Regions from separate parts of the Homo sapiens genome. Here region 2 is linked to region 1. The links are contacts of gene promoters, found by promoter capture Hi-C in human tissues and cell types (Jung and others, 2019). All regions are on one chromosome and are shown on one strand. Each heading gives the region's core, a stretch centred on a gene start or on the middle of the fragment in contact. The rest is flanking DNA. Distances are from core to core; before and after follow the strand shown.

What was found. Contacts are between HindIII fragments. The study calls those that stand out against the background at their distance.
Region 2: a fragment that was not itself captured here is called in contact with the fragment with the promoter of HMOX2 in region 1 in 1 of the 25 tissues and cell types used here (dorsolateral prefrontal cortex).

What each region holds. Positions count from the first base shown.
Region 1 is chr16:4,474,975-4,480,227 of GRCh38, forward strand. HMOX2 (heme oxygenase 2) reads left to right here and starts at 1,424. Exons shown (of 6, transcript NM_002134.4): 1 at 1,424-1,513. It overlaps LOC124903636 (a long non-coding RNA gene), which reads right to left. Exons shown (of 3, transcript XR_007064964.1): 3 at 4,290-4,587. It also overlaps a transcript of NMRAL1 not described here. RefSeq lists an enhancer at 1,220-1,721. The HindIII fragment of the contact is 17,527 bases long and covers 1-5,253 here.
Region 2 is chr16:3,695,665-3,700,917 of GRCh38, forward strand. All of the region lies in intron 1 of TRAP1 (TNF receptor associated protein 1), which reads right to left. Among named protein-coding and RNA genes, the nearest start is that of TRAP1, 19 kb to the right of the region's middle. RefSeq lists an enhancer at 556-1,056. The HindIII fragment of the contact is 6,313 bases long and covers 1-5,253 here.

The DNA.
Region 1 (5,253 bases), core at 174-2,673:
AGTGTCTTGGTCCGTCGCCCAGGCTGGTGTGCAGTGGCGCGATCTCGGCTTACTGCAACCTCCGCCCCCCGGGTTCAAGAGATTCTCCTGCCTCAGCCTCCCGAGTAGCTGGGATTACAAGCATGTGCCACCAAGCCCGGCTAATTTTTGTATTTTTTAGTAGAGACGGGGTTTCACCAGGTTGACCAGGCAGGTCTCGAACTCCTGACTTAAAGTGATCCACCCACCTCAGCCTCCCAAAGTGCTGGGAGTACAGGTGGGAGCCACCGTGCCCAGCCCTAACTCACTTCTGAAGTTGCTGCTACTTGCACTGATTTCAGTTTTTTTTTGTTTTTGTTTTTTGTTTTCAAGGTGGAGTCTTGCTCTGTGGCCCAGGCTGGAGTGCAGTGGTGGTGCGATCTTGGCTCACTGCAACTTCCGCCTCTTGGGTTCAAGTGATTCTCCTGCCTCAGTTTCCTGAGTAGCTGGGATTACAGGCAGGAGCCACCATGCCCGGCTAAAATTTTTTTGTATTTTTGGTAGAGACGGGGTTTCAACATGCTGGCCAGGCTGGTCTCGAACTGCTGACCTCAAGTGATCTTCCCGCCTCAGGCTCCCAAAGTGCTGGGATTACAGACATGAGCCACCACACCCGGCCCACGATTTCAGTAATTTCTTTGTGTTCAGTAAAACTAAAAAATGACTCTGGGCTGGGTGCGGTGGCCTGTAATTGCAGTGATTTGGGAGGCCGAGGCGGGTGGATCACCTGAGCTCAGGAGTTCGAGACCAGCCTGGCCAACATGGTGAAACCCCCGTCTCTACTAAAAATACAAAAATTAGCCGGGCGTGGTGGCAGGCGCTTGTAATCCCAGCTATTCGGGAGGTTAAGGCAGGAGAATCGCTTGAACCCGGGAGAAGGGGGTTGCAGTGAGCCGAGATCACGTCATTGCACTCCAGCCTGGGCGACGAGCAAAACTCGGTCTCAAAAAAAGAAAAATCATTCTGTCATTCTGGCCGCTGTTTGAAGAATGCGAATAATGCAACAGGGAGATCAGATACAAGACTGGTAACCGAGGTGTCAGAGTTGAGACTCAGTTTCGCAGATTGCATTGGCAAGTGACCAAGTGGGTGGTGCCACGGTTGACAACCCTATTTCTTACATCACTGAGTGGATGTACAAGGATTAAACCACACTGGGGAAGAAAAGTGCTCAACCCTGAGGCACCCTCACACACCTCGGCTCTTGTGAACACTAGTGTTCCTGCCGAAGCACGCCTACTTACCCCGCTGAGCAGAGCCTGAGCCTGCAACCTCCAGAGACCTGGGGAAAGCCACATACTCCGCTTCCCGCCCCCGGCAAGGGCGTGTCAGCTACAAGGGGCGTGTCATCTCTAGGCCCCGCCCCGCGCTGCGTGCCCACGTTGCGCCGGCCTCGCGCCAGTCCGCTGGGCTGCAGGGACTGCGGCGCCTGAGGGAGTCGCTGACGGGCACGCTGACTGGAGGCTGGCGGACAGGCGACAGCGACCTGCGGCAGGTGAGCTGTCCGCGCCCTCCCGGGGCCTTCCTTCCGCCCGGCTTCTCGGACCGCGCTGCGTCCTTCGCGGGCCCTGCCTCGGTCCAGGCCTTCGGACCTGGGCTTGGCCGGGCCACAGCCCTTTGGGTCCCCTGCGCCGGTCTGAGGGGAGACCCGGCCGGGGGCGGCCGGAAGCTGGGTGAGGCCGGGCAGAAGGACGAAGAAGGGCGTGGAGGGGCTGTCAGGGGAGGGCGAAACCGCGGACGCCGCTCTCCAGAAGTCGTCTCCCCGGGGGCGCGGGGAGGCCTGAATGGCTCTCTTTGGCGTCCCCGTTGGGCCCACCCTCTCCCAGCGTCACGGCTATGCTGGGCGAGGTGACCCCCGGGGTCGTAGCTGGGGGCGTCGGCGGTGCAGACAGGGGATGCCGGCAGAGATTGGAGCCCGGCTTGGCTGTTTCCCGGGCTGTTGGCATTGACCGGGGCTCTGCCCTTCCTCTAATGCCCTTATCTCTATAGGAAGTGCCCCTTGAGTGGGTGTCGTGACTTCACGAGTGAACCCTGGTACGCCCTGGAGCAGAGTCGGACTGGGAGGGATCAAGTGTGGGGGCAGCCGGTTAGTCCGGACGCGGGTTTACCTATTACTTTCTGAGCGCAGTGCTCTGGGTGGATTAATTGCCCTGCAAAAGCTGCCGGGACCTCCTTGCAGTCTTTGCACGAGGCCTGCCTGTGTCATGCCATTTAAATCGCGTCTGGGCCGGGTCGGTGGCTCACGCCTGTAATTCCAGCACTTTGGGAGGCCAGGGCGGGCGGATTGCTTGAGGTCAGGAGTCCGAGACCAGCCTGGCCAACATAGTGAAACCCCGTCTCTACTAAAAATACAAAAATCAGCCGGGCATGGTAACGTGAGCCTGTAGCTCCAGCTACTTAGGAGGCTGAGGCAGGAGAATCGCTTGAACCCGGGAGGCAGAGGTTGCAGTGAGCCGAGATCACGCCATTGCACTCCAGCCTGGGCGACAGAGCAAGACTCCATCTAAAAAAAAAAAAAAAAAAAAAAAAAATCGCTTCTGATGAGCCGGTTGTCGTGGCCTGTGGCTGTCCATCCTTACGTACTGTGTTTTGTTGATGGCGCTACAAACCAGACAAGGTGGAGTGTGATTGAAGAAAGAAACGCTGGCCGGTGCAGTGGCTCACTCCTGTAATCCCAGCACTTTGGGAGGCCGAGGCAGGCGGATCACCTGAGGTCAGGAGTTCGAGATCAGCCTGGCCAACATGGTGAAACCCCGTCTCTACTAAAAATACAAAAAAGTTAAACGGGCGGGGTGGCGCGTGTCTGTAATCCCAGCTACTGGGGAGTTTGAGGTTGGAGGATCACTTGAGCCCACGAAGTGGAGATTGCAGTGAGCTGAGATCGCATCACTGCACTCCAGCCTGGGTGACAGAGTGAGACCCTGTCTCAAAAAAGAAAAAAATAAATTATCACAAGACAAAATTTGTGCTTATCAGGAGTTCACAGTTAAGACATATATAAGCTTACTTGGTGAAATTAGAAAAAGTTATCAGATAAAACATTCAGGTTTAAACACTGGTGAGGGTGTGGGAATTTGTGGAGCCTTGGAAACACACTCATTGAATGACCTCATCTACCTGGGGATGTGAAGAGGGAAATCCTGTGATTCCTCCATTGTCTGACTTGATTTCCTTTTTTCCTTGGCTGTGGCAACATGTTGAAGTGCTGTGAGTCACCAAAAGGGGGAACGTGAGCAACTCTAGAAATGCCAGTGCCAGTGAGTTACAGACAATAAAGCATTGACCGCCTTTAGCTCACCCCTCATCAAGTCTGTTGAAAACTTGTAAAATTGGACAGCTAGAGCTACCTTGATTTTTTGGTTTCCTTTTAACAGCTGACTCTCTTCACAGGACAGTTGGGCTCTACATCAGGATTGCACCCAAAACTGGAATATCACTCCTCCAGGAGGAAGATATATTTGAAAATTAGAATTGTGGGCCCGGTGCAGTGGCTCATGCTTGTGATCCCAGCACTTTGGGAGGCCGAGATGGGCGGATCACCTGAGGTCGGGAGATAGAGACCAGCCTGACCAACATGGAAAAACCCCATCTCTACTAAGAAAAAAATAATAATAATACAAAAATTAGCTGGGCATGGTGGTGTGTGCCTGTAATCCGAGCTACTTGGGAGGCCGAGGCAGGAGAATCACTTGAACCTGGGAGGCAGAGGTTGCGATGAGCCAAGATTGTGCCACTGCATTCCAGCCTGGGCAACAGGAGCAAAACTGCATCTCAAAAAAAAAAAAAAGAAAGAAAGAAAATTAGAATTGTGTATTTCACTGTAAAATTTGAAATTCAGCTTTAACTCCTTGGAAAGGAAAGAGATGAAAAACTTGACCTAGACTGGGTGCGGTGGCTCACGCCTGTAATCCCAGCACTTTGGGAGACCAAGGCGGGTGGATCACCTGAGGTCAGGAGTTCGAGACCAGCCTGGCTAACATTGTGAAACCCCGTCTCTACTAAAAATACAAAAATTAGCCTTGCAAAAAGTAGCCTGTAATCCCAGCTACTCGGGAGGCTGAGCAAGGAGAATTGCTTGAACCTGGGAGGCAGAGGTTTCAGTGAGCCAAGATCATGCCATTGCACTCCAGCCTGGGCGACAAGAGCAAAACTTCATCTCAAAGAAAAAAAAATTCTATCAGAGTGAACAATAAGTAGGATGCTAGCACATACCTGTAATCTCAGCTACTTGGGAGGCTGAGGCAGGAAGTTAATACTTGATGAGCCTAAGTTTTTGGTGTCTTTGGATGCTGCTTGTCGATCTAAGGGGTTTCCAAACGCTTCTTTTTTGGTAAAATTGGGATTATGACTAGGAATCTGTTTTTTGGAGTTTCCCAGGTGATCCTTGTTTGGGGTCCTTGTCTAAGGCACAGGCTGGAAAGAGGAGGGAGTGGACTGGCAGGGAAGATAGAGCAGTAAGCGAATAGAATACCTGGGGAAAGGGACGCCAGAAGAGTGATTGTTGTCTGGTGAACTGTGCTGTCAGTGTGTATGTCAGAAGCCAACAAAGTGGATATTCTCTTCACTCAGCTTAGGGAAAAAATTAATTTTTGTTTCACAGATAGATTCGTTTCCTTCCCAGGAGTATTATAGGCCTAATTACTGTCATAGTTCTCAGTAACTTTAAAAAGGCTGTGGGGAAGAATGGCATAACAGACTAGTATCTTGTACCCAGCCTGCCTTTTTCTTATTCTATTTTTTTTTTTTTTTTTTTTTTTTTTTTTTTTGAGACAGTCTTGCTCTGTCACCCAGGCTGGAGTGTGGTGGCACAATCTCAGCTCACTGCAACCTCCGCCTCCTGGGTTCAAGCGATTCTCCAGCCTCAGTCTCCTGAGTAGCTGGGATTACAGGCGTATGCCACCATGCCTGGCTAATTTTTGTATTTTTAGTAGAGATGAGGTTTCACTATGTTGGCCGGGCTGGTCTCCTACTCCTGACCTCAGGTGATCCGTCCACCTTGGCCTCCCAAAGTGCTGGGGTTATAGGCATGAGTCGCTGCGCCCGGCTTTTTTATTTTTTATTTTTTATTTTTTTGAAACAGAGTCTGGCTCTTTCACCCAGGCTGGAGTACAGTGATCTGATCTGAGCTCACTGCAATCTCTGCCTCTGGGGTTCAAGCAGTTCTCCTGCCTCAGCCTTCCAAGTAACTGGGACTACAGGCATGCACCACCATGCCTGGCTAATTTTTGTACTTTT
Region 2 (5,253 bases), core at 894-3,393, 780 kb before region 1:
TGAAAGAAGAACTAACCTAAGAGACTTCAGAAAATAGCACTTTGACTGTTACTGTAAAACTAACCTCAGAGGACAGCACACCATCACCAGGCTCGGGCAGGAGATGTGTCCCCTGCGGAGTCAGCAGGTCTGAGCCCGATTTACGCATGTGCCAAGATCAAGCGGAAAAGCTGATTGTGGCTACTGAGTTGGGGTCCTCACAGTTGAAGAAAAGTCACTGATAAGGAAGGGGCAGGAATAAACCCTGCGGGGCGGCACTGGAGGTACAGGCATCAGTACAGGCTCACAACCTTTGCCATGTGTACAGACTGGATGCAGAAATCAATACCGGAACATTTACACACACACATTTCCCAGCTCTGTCCACTGACGCGTGACAGGGCCCAGGCGCGATGACCCCCCACTTAGGCTACAGAGAGCAAAGTCCAAAAGCTGTTCCAGTTTCAGCACTCTAAAGTCCCACGTCCCAGGGAAAGCCTTTGTCCTGGCAAACTAGGACGGCTGGTCACCCTACCTGGCAGCCAGATCTTGGTTTGTGAATACCTCTCTCCAAAAACAGGAACCAGAGATCCCTGCGGAGCACACAGAGGAGCCTAGGACACCCAGTGGTGTGCAGAAGGACGAGAAAGGACGGGGTGTGTCAGGAGAACACACAGCCCAGCCAGAAGGGCTCCCAGTGGCAGAATCTAGGACAATCTGTGCGGCAAAATAACGAACGACAATAATGGATTGTAAGCTGTGACCCGGCAAATCAAGCAAACATCGGTGCACACTTAAACAGAGGAGGAGCAGCAGCTCTTCATCACAGCAGAATTCCAATGAATAAACACAAGGAATGGCAGAAAACAGAAAGCACACCATCAGGAAACACCACAGCAATAACTGGCTGGTGTAAGTTACTACTATTTTGAGACAGGGTCTCACTCTGTTGCCCAGGCTGGATCACAATGGCACAATCACAGCTCACTGCAGCCTCGACCTTCCCGGGCTCAGGTGATCCTCCCACCTCAGCCTCCTGAGTAGCTGGGACTATAGGCCGTGTATTACCACTCCTAGCTAATTTTTTTTTTCTTTTTTTTTTTGACTGGGTCTCACTCTGTCGCCCAGGCTGAAGTGCAGTAGAGTGATCTTGGCTCACAGCAGCCTCAACCCTCCGGATTCAAGTGATCCTCCCACCTCAACCTTCCGAGTAGCTGAGACTACAGGCTCATGCCACCATACCCGGCTAATTTTTGTGTTTTCTGTAGAGACAGGGATTCACCATGTTGCCCAGGCTGGTCTCAAACTCCTGAGCTCAAGTGATCCCCCGGCCTCTGCCTCCCAAGCGCTGGGATTAGAGCCGTAAGACACCACGCCCAGCCTAAGGTTATGTATTTGAAGCAGTGGTAGATACTGCCAAGTCACACTCCACAGAGATCCTATCAGTTTACGTTCCCACAGCAATGTACTAAAGTGCATATCATCCTACATTCCTGCCAAGTCAGTGTTGAGATGAAACTCTTGGATCTTTGCCTATTGGTCAGATAAAATTTTCACTGCAGTTTTCACTTACATTTCTCTTATTATAAGCAAAACTGAGCACTGTCCCGTATTTTTAAATATTTCCTATTTCCTTTTTTGTTAAGGGACTGTTGGTATCCTCTGATAATTTTTCTACTACATTTTAAATCTTCTTCTTATTGATTTGTAAGAGCTTTTTATATATTAAGGAAATTAGTCGCCAGGAGCGGTGGCTCACACCTGTAATCCCAGCACTTTGGGAGGCCGAGGCGGGAGGATCACGAGGTCAGGAGATTGAGACCATCCTGGCTAACACGGTGAAACCCCGTCTCTACTAAAAATACAAAAAATTAGCCAGGCGTAGTGGTGGGCGCCTGTAGTCCCAGCTACTTGGGAGGCTGAGGCAGGAGAATGGCATGAACCCGGGAGACGGAGTTTGCAGCGAGCTGAGATGGCGCCACTGCACTCCACCCTGGGCAACAGAGCAAGACTCTGTCTCAAAAAAAAAAAAAAAAGGAAATTAGTCTTTTGGTTGTAAAAGCCTTCCTCACTCTAAGATTAAACATGATTTCCCCATGTTTCATTTTTCTAGTCTTTTTGGTTTTTCCCCAATTAATATGCAGAATTTTTTTTTTTTTTCCTCGAGAAGGTCTTGCTCTGTTGCCCAGAGCTGGAGTGAAATGGCGTGATCTCGGCTCACTGCAACCTCTGCCTCCCAGGTTCAAGCAATTCTCCTGCCTCAGCCTCCCAAGTAGCTGGGATTGCAGGTGTGCACCACCATGCCCGGCTAACTTTTGTGTTTTTTTGTTTTTTTGTTTTTCTTTTTTAAGTAGAGACAGGGTTTCACCATGTTGGCCAGGATGGTCTCGAACTCCTGACCTCGTGATCCGTCTGCCTCAGTCTCCCAAAGTGCTGGGATTACAGGCACAAACCACTACACCCAGCCTATATTTTTGAAAGGATTTAATATAATATTCATTATGGGAGGAGTATATAGAAGTCCTCACAATTGGGAAAAAGAAAAAAATAAGAAATCTATATTTCCAGCCAGAATTGCAAGACTTAGTATCATAACGCCAAGATTACATTAATTGAATTGACAGCATTCTTAAAAGCAGATTTGATTTCAGGTTATGTAAACTTTCCACAACAACTTTTTTTTTTTTTTTTAGAGTCTCACTCTGTTGCCCAGGCTGCAGTGCAGGGCGCCATCTCGGCTCACTGCAAGCTCCGCCTCCCGGATTCATGCCATTCTCCTGCCTCAGCCTCCCAAGACTACAGGCGCCCGCCACCATGCCCGGCTAATTTTTTGTATTTTTAGTAGAGATGGGGTTTCACCGTGTTAGCCAGGATGGTCTTGATCTCCTGACCTCGTGATCTGCCCGCCTCAGCCTCCCAAAGTGCTGGGATTACAGGCGTGAGCCACCGCGCCCGGCTTCTACAACAACTTTTAATCACTAACTCAGGTGCAGTGGCTCATGCCTGTAATCCCAGCACTTTGGGAGGCCAAGGCCGGGGGGTCGCTTCAGCTCAGGAGTTTGAAATTAGCCTGGGTAACATGGCAAAACCCCATCTCTACAAAAAAACAGCCAGGTGTGGTGGTGCATGCCTGTAGTCTCAGCTACTTGGGAGGATCACTTGAGCCTGCAAGGCAGAGGTTGCAGTGAGCCAAGATCACGCCACTGCATTTCAGGGTGGGAGATGCAGCCAGGCCCTGTCTCAAAAAAAAAATTAAAAATTAAAAAAAAAATAAACCATTAGAGGAATAAATCTGCCTGAACCAGATACCAAACACGCTAGCTGTACAATTTCCGTCTTTGTGTTTCTCCTACACCCTAAAGGAAAAACCACAAACCTCAATGTCAGGCTACAAGATCTTACTGTTAAACTATCTGGTGGTTTGGGGTCGCACAAAATGGGAAGCACTGATAGTTTGAATGTGACACCACACACCCCTCCCCTTCCACCCCCCACATCCCTACCCACTACTGCCAGTGCCCATGCAGCTCCTCCACTCTGCAGCTGCAGTCTCAGTAGCTGGGACTCCTTCCCATCCGAGTTGCTGCAGGGCCTGGCTGCAGGCCCTCTCTCCCATTCAGGCCTCCCTGGCCCCAGCAGTTCACAATAATCTCTTCCTATGAGTTCACTGCACTTAACTTTTTATGCTGCCCATTTAAAAAAATTTTATACTGGCCAGGCGCAGTGGCTCACACCATAATCCCAGCACTTTGGGAGGCCGAGGCGGGTGGATCACCTGAGGTCAGGAGTTCAAGACCAGCGTGACCAACAGGGTGAAACCCCATCTCTACTAAAAATACAAAATTAGCACTGGGTGCCTGTAATCCCCGCTACTCGGGAGGCTGAGGCAGGAGAATCACTTGAACCCACGAGGCAGAGGTTGCGGTGAGCCGAGATTGTGCCATTGCACTCCAGCAGCCTGGGTGACAAGAGTGAAACTCCGTCTCAAAAAAAAAAAAAAAAAAAAAAGATTTATTCATGTATTTACTATTTCTTTCTTTCTTAGAAAAGAGATTGCTCTGTCACCCAGGCTGGAGTGCAGTGGTACAGTCATGGCTCACTGCAGTCTTGAACTCCTGGGCTCAAGGGACCTTCCTGCTTTACTCTCCTGAACAGCTGGGACTGCAGGTAAGCACCATCACACAGGACTAAATTCTTTTTTTTTTTTTTTTCCTAGAGATAGGGTGTTTCCATGTTGACCAGGCTGGTCTTAAGCTCCTGGTCTCAAGCAATCTTCCTACCTTAGCCTCCCAAAGCTGCTGGGATTACAGGTCTGAGCCACCACGCCCAGCCTGTGCTGCTCATTTGAAACTGCTGCTATATGCCAGCATATGACATTTCCCACTGTTAATTTTTTGGTTAATGTATAATTTATCTCACCAAATTAGGGCAGGAAAAAGCTTGTATTTCTCAGTAACACTCTTTGAAGACAGGAACATCCATATTTCTTGGTATGCCAAAGTATCTATCACAAAAGCTACTCTTTACAAACTTTTTTTTTTGAGATGGAGTTTCCCTCTTGTTGCCCAGGCTGGAGTGCAATGGCGCGATCTCAGCTCACCCCATCCTCCTCCTCCCGGGTTCAAGCGATTCTCCTGCCTCAGCCTCCCGAGTAGCTGAGATTACAGGCATGTGCCACCACGCCTGGCTAATTTTGCATTTTTTGTAGAGACGGGGTTTCTCCATGTTGGTCAGGCTGCTCTCTAACTCCTGACCTCAGGTGATCCGCCCACATCGGCCTCCCAAAGTGCTAGGATTACAGGTGTGAGCCACCACGCCCAGACTTTTTTGTTTGTTTGTTTGAGATGCAGTCTCACTCTGTTGCCCAGGCTGGAGTGCACTGGCACAATCTCGGCTCACTGCAAACTCCGCCTCCCAGTTCAAGCCATTCTCGGGCCTCAGCCGCCCGAGTAGCTGGGACTACAGATGCACATCACCACGCCAGGCTAATTTTTATATTTTTAGTAGAGATGGGGTTTCTCCATGTTGCCCAGGCTGGTCTCAAACTCTGGGGCTCAAGGGATCCTCCTGCCTCAGCCTCCCAAAGTGGTGGGATTACAGAAGTGAGCCACCGCACCTGGCCAAGGGTGCATATTTCAAACACCAGAGTAACCACTAAAATAATAATTCAAAGAAGAATAGCTTTAAAAAGCATTAGATAAACCACAATGGAAATCTCAAATACATTTCATTGATAAGGAAAGGAAAAACAGGGAAAAAATCCAAAAGGACAAA